2 separate regions of the Homo sapiens genome follow, and region 1 is linked to region 2. Evidence: promoter capture Hi-C in 16 types of primary human blood cells and fetal thymus (Javierre and others, 2016). All regions are on one chromosome and are shown on one strand. The core of a region is centred on a gene start or on the middle of the fragment in contact, and the rest is flanking DNA. Distances in the headings are between cores, read along the strand shown. Region 1 overlaps NBEA (neurobeachin). Region 2 holds the start of FRY-AS1 (FRY antisense RNA 1).

Region 1 (4,337 bases), core at 955-3,454, 3.1 Mb after region 2:
TCATTTCTGCCTAAACCAGAATTGAGGTAGGGATTTTGCAGAGGCATTATGTTAGCTTATTTATTAAAATGTTCCATTAATTATAGGAAAAGATACTTGTTTTGTAAAATAGAGTATGCATTATTTCTAATATATGAACTATACTTATATATATTATTTGGGCAGAGTTACTACAATAAAAATAAGTTGAAGTCTAAATATTTGATATTTAACCTTGATCATGTATAATTTATAAAATGAAAATCTCTTCTGAGAATTTTGCTTTTAATAAAATAATCAAATATAATTTTTAAATATATTATTTTGTGTTTCAATTTTACATTGTATTTTCATTTAATTTAATAATTTCCTTTTCTTGTACTTTTTGGTCTGTTGTCTGTTTTGTCTAATGCATGTCCAGGGTTCTAAGGTTAGTATTACTTTTGTAGTAATTTTCAGCTTTCAGTTTCAAGTTTTATTTTTACTTATTTATGAAATTTTTGACTTGGTTATATTTTGAGTTTTCATATCATCTTTAACATGAGACATATCTTTTGTATATTTAAAAGAGTCATTGAAAGGATTATTTTCCCAATGCATTGATGTATTACTATTTTATTATGCACAATAATCCCTAGATTAAACTATCATATTGAACACAATGGTGTTACAGTCATATGTACAATCAGATTTTAATTGGTTCTAAGGAAAGTAAATTGGATGAAATATATTATTTTAAGATTTAATAATTGTATGAGAGTGATCTTTATTTTTTAGCCCTATCTTTTGATGCTTACATACTTCATTTTTTAAATTACTTTTATATAAAATGGAATACAAATTCTCTTTTAGACTGTTGTGTTGAAAGTGCCTTCTACTCTAAAATTTAATTTTTTCAGTCAAAAAAACACTTTGATGGATTATATGGACACCTTAATAATTCTATTTATAATTCACTCATTTTAAAATGAAAGCATAGTTTGACAGGTCAAAACACTCAAAACCATTAAATAATGAATATAGAGAGATAGCTATCTGCAATTTCAGTGATTCAAAATGATGAAGAATTTGTGAACACAGATCTAGATATTCTAAATTCTAACATTTGAAAAATTATTTATAGTATTTGATAGACCTAAGAAATGGCCAAGTTCTTCATTCCTTTATAGAACATTTTAAATTGAAAACAGATTTAAAATGAATTTTTTGCTCTTTCTTATGAGCTATGATGTCATGGTCATAGATTTTTAATTGATATTATGAAGTGATGCTGTATATTCATGAAGTGCTAAGAAGTAAAGAATCTGCATTTTAAAATCCAAGTAATGAATTAATCATTTCTTTATGCCATGTGTACTGAATTGGCATAATGTTGTAACAACTGAAAACACATTTCTGTCTCTTTCCAGGCTCATTTTAGAGAGAATGGTTTTAACCCTATTTTGCTGTTAAATGGAAGGAGGAATGGTTGTTACATTTTATACATCATTTAAAACTGAGCTTAGTTATATAATGCTTGTAGTAGCCACCTATCCTTTTTATTACCCACTTTGTGCACAAGAAATGTTTTGAGTATTTTGAGTTCTTTTTTCAGTGTTTTCTGCTCACGTTTCCATGTTAATGCTCCTGCTTCTTCCAAGCAGGAAGAAGTTTAGGTATAATGATGGCTATAAACAGTGTCAAAATGGAACATTAAATAGGAATAGATACCTATTACATATGCTAACCTTGTAGTTGAATTTATCATTTGGTTAAGAGTTAATATTGATTGGAATGGCTAGTGTGTCCATTTTCAGAAAATTTAAATAATTTTTTTTTACTTATGAAGTATTCCCTTCCTTGGTTCCTTGAGGCACTGATAAAATGAGGCCTAGTCCTAAGGAACAAAAATAATTAAAATGCTGTATAGTCCATGGTGCAAAACAAAATAAGAAATGTTGACATTGTTTAAAAAACCATAAAGTTGTGCATTTTAAGAAACACAATGCTTTGTAATATTCCCTCTGAAATCAGAAATGTAGTGAAAGTACAGTTTTCCAATCTAGAATGCTATGATTCTTTTTATTACTAGTGTTTTATAAGTCACGAATTAAATATCTATAGATGAGTTAGCGATCTTGATTATTTTTACCCTAGAGTTTTATCGTACATGTAAAGTACCTAGTAGTTTCAGTTTATTCTAAAATGGATAAGAAATTGTTATGCATTCTAATTTGACAGCCATCTCATTTTGATACTAAGTTAAATTACCATGTATTTTCCCTATTATTCATCATACATCTATAGGAAAGAAAAATCAAAGCATATATTTTTATTAATGGGAATGAAGATTTTAGAAAAGAAATATCAATTTAAAATCTTTATAAATTACAAAACAAAACTAGTATAAGTACATATATGTGGTTCTGTCTAAATATCTTTGTGAAATGATCTTAAGTTTAGGATGTCATTTTTATAACTAAAGACATTTAAAACTAATGTTGATTTTAAAATGGGCTTTTCCTTTATTCAAGGATAATTGATAGGTAAAGTAACCGAATTTGGTAACCAGCTCTGGTGATATATGGAATTAGTTGAACATTTATTTTATTTATAAAATATGGTAAATATACTAAATTTATGTTCACTTGTAGTATGTATGTATATGTATTATATTTCCAAATTTCCAAATTTTAAACAAGACTTAAATCTTCTACTTTTTTAAAGACGGAATTGGAAAATATTGAAGTGACACAAGGCATGTCAGCTGAGACAGCAGTAACTTTCCTCAGCCGGCTGATGGCTATGGTTGATGTACTTGTGTTTGCAAGCTCTCTAAATTTTAGTGAGATTGAAGCTGAGAAAAACATGTCTTCTGGAGGTTTAATGCGACAGTGCCTAAGATTAGGTAAGTCTGTTAAAACAATAGTGCATGTCAAATAATTATCTACAGAGCAGCTTTATAAAGCACTATGGTACATAAAATATTAATGATATAAGTTGATGATTATATAATATGGAGATTATCTTGAGATACAGAGATTATTTTTATAATTAATCAGAATTACTAAATTTTAAAAAATTATGCCTTCACATTGGAGATTTCACAGAACTGATCATCTTTAATGGTTCATAGTTTGAAATCAAGAGTGAAATATACTTGGAATTCTTTCAAAATCAGTAAGACTAACATTTGTCATTGAAGTGATTTTTAATGCAAATCCATTTATGAATCCAATTTTGGTAAACCAATACTGAGGGTAGTGTCCTGGCCTCACAAACATGTCAGATACACATAATGCTAGAAGGTTAAAATAAACTATCCCAATCTTACTGTTTCTTGGGGTGAACAAATGTCCCTAATAAATATTGTTATACCCATGCTGTTCACCTTTTATCTGTGTGGCAGTGAAACTTTAGCACTGAAACCTCTTAGTAAATCTGAATGAATTCTTTAGATAAGAACCATTTCTACCTCTCTTAAAAGGAACATTTATTTACACTATTTAGACTTTCAAAACCAGAAAACTGCTGTTTTTGTACTTGCCTTAGATCATGAGCAGGACATAAGAACTGCAAGGCATGAAATAGGAAGGACGTTCCTGATATGTACTGTTTTCACCCATAACTTTTAAAGATTATGTCAAAAATTCCTTTCTGATTCAAGAAAGGAACAAAGACTTGGTTTAAGAATGGTGGGATGAAACCTTTTTTTGTTTGTTTGTTTCGTATTATTTATTTAAAGACAGGCAAGCTGAGAGGAATCATTTTGTATTCATTATAAGAGAAAGATTGACCACATTAAGATCTTTCTGGCAACCAAGAGGTGTGGGTTAACTGACGGTGGGCCATTAAAGACATTTCCATTGACATATAACAAGAGCTGTCAAATGAACTGTGTGAGAAAGAGATATATATATATATTTTTAAAATGGCTCAATATCTTGAAACCTGCATTTATTTGGTTATTCTGTACTTTTATTTTTAAATATAGTCCAAGACTTTACTCCCTATTTCATTTTTATCCTAATACTACTAGCACATTTAGTTGTTTAATCAACCACAGGAAACTTTTATAAGTGAATAATAATAAAACACTTATATTACCTCCTATGCTATTTACTGTTCTAAGCACTTTCTATATATTAATTCAGTTAATCCTCACAACAGCCCTCTAAGGCAGTTACTTTGTTCATCCTCATTTTACATATGCTAAAACTGAGGCACAGATAGTTTAAGCAGCTAGCCTAAAACCACACAGCTCCAAACTGGAAAATACAGGATTCAAACTCAGGTCACGGTCTGATTTCAAACTCTGTACTACTTGTTACAGTATTCTACTGCTTCTTAAAATAAATGAATAAATAAAAACATGTACA
Region 2 (4,399 bases), core at 1,472-3,971:
CTCTTTAAAGGTACTCGAATGAAGAAAAAGCATACACTGGACAAGATTTCAGGTTCTAAGAGACAGAAACTGGGCTCTTAGATGCTGATTCACTCTTCACAGTGAAAGCTAGATGGCATTGAAAACATTATTTTCTAAGTAGCATTTACATTTTTATGACCGTTTCCCTTGAAATATATATGAGTGGCATTCTCAGCAAGTTAGTATGTTTATAGTAGTTAAATACTGAAAACTTATGTATTTAAGTATTGAAAACTTTAAAAAGCCAGTTAAAAATTTTTTAAAATAAAGTCAACAGAGAGAATCTCTATATATTTGAGTAACAATATACAATAGCATGTTTGCTTATTGCAACTGATTTTAAATGTCTCCAACTTGCTCTCCCCAAATAGTTACCACTGGTGTTCAAAAGTAATATATCTTTTAAACCACATAAAGAGTAAAGAAAAAAAAGTATTTAGCTTTTTAAAAAAAAGTTCTATTCTAGAGTCACTAAGGATTCATAATAAGAATGAATGGGCCAGGCGCAGTGGCTCATGTCTGTACTTTGGGAGACCAAGGCAGGTGGATCACCTGAGGTCAGGAGTTCAAGATCACCCCAGCCAACACTGTGAAACCCTATTTCTACTAAAAATACAAAAATTAGCCGGGCATGGTGGCGCATGCCTGTCACCCCAGCTACTCAGAAGGCTGAGGCAGGAGAATCGCTTGAACCCGGGAGGCAGAGGTTGCAGTGAGCCAAGATTGCACCACTGCATTCCAGCCCAGGCGACAGAGTGAGATTGTCTCAAAAAAAAAAAAAAAAAAAAAATCAATGTAGCTAAAATTTAATGAAGTGTTAACTATGGGCAAGATACTATGCTGAGCCCCTTTCATACATAGTGTTATTTATTGTTTCCAACAACTATAGGAAGAAGGTACAACCCCATTTTACAGATGAGGAAACGAAGGCTTAGCAAAGTTAATAGCTTACTTTGGGGCTCAAAGCTAGTAAGGGCTGGTGCCAGGAGCGAACATGGGGCCCTGCCTTGAGAGCCCATGCCATCGTTAATCGCAGGGCACTGTGCAGCCTACCTGTTCATTCACTGCCATCTGAGTCTTGGCAAGCATCAGATGGGCGTAGGTATGAAATTTATTTTCAGATATAATAATTGTTTCAAGGTAAAACCTTTGGGTCTTATTTTACCTAGAATCCATACATTCAAAGTACAAGTGATAAAATCAGTTCAGCAACTCTAGTATGCACATGAATTAAAAAGAAGTCAATCTGGTGAGAGATTTCATCAGAATAAAGTGTATAAGTGGAGTTGGAAATCTGAGTGATTGAGTGCTTGCCATTTGGGTAAGTGTAATGAGTTTGAAAAACTAATTGTATTGATGAAGTATCTTAGGGCCTTTCAGAACATAGTTCTAGAAGTTTTATTTAGTGTTGAATTTTAAAAATTCTTTGTCCTAACAATAAAAGTACATTGTAGTCTTTCCCTTCCATTTTTAAAATGAACTGTTAATCTAGGAAGTCCTGTTTGTGTGTTGATTTGGGGAGTTAGCCCAACATTTGCTATGTTAAATACTTATTAACATGGTTTATTACTTTTTTCTGTTTTTTAGACAACATTAATCATGAATGTACTGGGACTTGGGAAGGATCCTGTGGTTTATGAGATAGTTGGCCAAATCCCACCTCTTCCAACATAACCTGTCATTATTAAAATATAATACTCTTATTTAATCCCCTGGTCAAGCTAAATGATAATGTGAAACAAAGCTAACCAAAATCAGGACACCTGATATCAAGAATTCATGAAATCAAGAGCCATTGTAGAGCAAGGAATCTAATGCTTTTGCTTCTTATCCTTTTCATACAAATAAAATAAGCTTCACTGGGCTTAGTGAGTCTTAGAAATGAGAGGTTTGAGAATAAGATCCATTGTGGAGTGTGTGACATTACAAAAACAAGCCAACTAAGCAGTGTGTACTGTCCCCTTAGAGTGCACACGTTCGGGCTCCGATGCCCCTTGAAAAGACTGCATTTCTGGGAGGGAAAAGTAAAAATGCAGATACCACCATGCGTGTGGAAGGCAGGGAAGAAAAAGCCCAGACAAGCGTCCTCTTGTTGAGTCTCTTTACTGCAACGAGGCTGACGGATGGGGTTTTTCAAAACGTCGCTGCAACCAGATGCAAGGCTGCAGCTTTGCTTACCGCAGCGTGCTGCAGTTGTGTTTATTTCAGGGACAGACACAAGGGGAAGCAGCAGCCAGAGCACACCCGGGCCGCTCACGGGAAGCCTTGCTGAAGAGAGAGGATCCGCAGAAGCTGGGAAATTCCTCCCGCAGCCTAGGCGGAGACTGAGCCGCGGCTCAGGTTGAGACAGTGGGCAGGGGCAGGGGGCGGCGCTCCCGGCCCATCCCTTAGCCCCGCGGCGGCCGTGTGGGCCGGAGGCTGCCTGCACCGCGTCAGGGAGGCCGGCCTAGAAACCCTCCCTCCCAGAAGAAAGCCGATCCCAGTTCAGGTGGGGTCTTCCTCGGTTGCGTACCTGGCTGGAGCCGAGCTGGTGGGCGGCCGGCAGCCGGCGTTTCTGGTGATGACAGCCCCGAAATGAAAGCAGCGCGGCCGCCGCCTCCGAGGGCTGCAGGGAGATCAGCGTCCAGCAAATAAGAAGCAAGTCCTGGACCCGGAGGAGGAGGAGCGGCCGAGCATCTCTCTCTGCTCCGCCGTGTCCTTTAGATGAGCACTCCCGGCCGGAGCCGGAGGTGGATCCGCAGAGCTGCCTCTGGGCGCCTGACCCCGCGCTGACATCACAACCTGTGACAGGCGCATCACGCCCGGTACCTGCTCCCGGCCGCTGCCCGTCCTCCCAGCCTCTTTGTATGCCGCAGACATGGCCAGCCAGCAGGATTCGGGCTTCTTTGAGATCAGTATCAAATATTTACTGAAATCCTGGAGTAATAGTGAGTAATAGAAAATAACCTTTTTGTTTGTTTGTTTGCTGGATGTTGCATAAGGCTGGAGACAGAAAATCTCAACTGGACACATATGTTTGTGAGCCGCGGAAGTTTTTCTTTTTTTCTTTTCTTTTCTTTTCTCTTTCTTTCTTTCTTTCTTTCTTTTTCTTTCTTTCTTTCTTTCTTTTTTTGCTCCCATCTGCTGTGAAAATCAAAATGTCAGAGACTGAACTAGCTTTCCTTAAGTGCAAAGGCTGCAATGGAATTACAGTAGATTGTGTTTGATTAAATTTTCAAGTGAGGCAGCCCTTCAGACTCTGGGGGAGCTCAGGATCAGGCATTCCTGGCTGCATTTCCTGCCTTGATGTTTATTTGATTTGTTCAGGCTTTCTCTAAATATTTTGTGAAGTGTGATTTAATCAAAGGGGTGTGGCAGGGTTTCAGAGTACTTTGTAATTGTTTTTTTAGGGTATTGTCTGAAGAAAGAAAAGTATTTAATAGTCCAAAACCTAGGACATCCTTTTTGTATATAGAGGCATCTGCAGATTTATTTCATCTCTCCCTCTTCCATGTGGATGATGTTCTGAATGCCATTTAATATTTGAATTTTTAAAAATCCTGATGTTTGCTATAGTCCAAATATTGTGCTTTTTTGAAACATAAACAAGTGAGGTTCTGACCCTAATTATTTATTAGGATAGCAGAATATGATGGCTCCTGAAGTTCCATTTCTGACCTACATAAGGATTTTAGCAATACGCTATTTCAAAAAGACAACCTCTAAGCTGCCGTGGATCTGGAATCAAATTAAAATGAGGCCTTCAGGTGATCAATGATGCCTTGTATTTTCCGAACTGTTTAAAAAGAAAGTCTTCTCTATTTCACTAACAGCCTTTGTACTTGCTTTGGATAAAAGATCAGCAGGTATTACTGATGCTTTATTGTTTTAAATAAAAAAATTTTTTCCCCGTGAAAATTTTAATATTGTATTATGTGCATACTGATTAACCTACCTGTGCTCAAAGAGCTAGTGATTAATTGTCTCCTACACAAATGACCTGTGGCCAAGATTGTTCTTATATAAACAAAACCTGGGCAGGAGAACCTGTGCTGCAATTGCTTTGAGGAAAAGAGCTAAAGTACCTTCAGCCTTAAGGTATTCAGGGATGTGCATCTCTAAATGATATCCATAGAAACCATTTTTTCCAGGTCATTTTGCACCACTGTATACACTATGGGGCTTGTCTGAAGCTGTTTTTCTACAAGTGGGAAGCCATTTGGGAGTAATACTGTTGCCCAAACAGCATTCTTTACTTGTCATAGCTATAAATCATTTAACTTGGACTCATTATTTTTATAATACTTTACACTCAAGGATGAATCTTCCTTTGTCTATCTGCTCTTTGATTAATGAAAAGAATTTGACATACAGTGTTCTTTATGGAGCAGTTTTCCAA

The links. The method cuts DNA at HindIII sites, captures the fragments that hold promoters and counts their contacts. A CHiCAGO score of 5 or more calls a contact.
Region 1: a fragment that was not itself captured here is called in contact with the fragment with the promoter of FRY-AS1 in region 2 in 1 of 17 cell types (naive B cells); the score reaches 6.4 in naive B cells.

What each region holds. Positions count from the first base shown.
Region 1 is chr13:35,168,587-35,172,923 of GRCh38, forward strand. NBEA (neurobeachin) reads left to right here. Exons shown (of 59, transcript NM_001385012.1): 25 at 401-409; 26 at 2,686-2,866. Among named protein-coding and RNA genes, the nearest start is that of NBEA, 230 kb to the left of the region's middle. The HindIII fragment of the contact is 4,581 bases long and covers 1-4,337 here.
Region 2 is chr13:32,028,918-32,033,316 of GRCh38, forward strand. FRY-AS1 (FRY antisense RNA 1) reads right to left here and starts at 2,722. Exons shown (of 4, transcript NR_103839.1): 1 at 2,534-2,722. It overlaps FRY (FRY microtubule binding protein), which reads left to right and starts at 2,857. Exons shown (of 61, transcript NM_023037.3): 1 at 2,857-2,948. The coding sequence starts at 2,879. The HindIII fragment of the contact is 3,062 bases long and covers 1,874-4,399 here.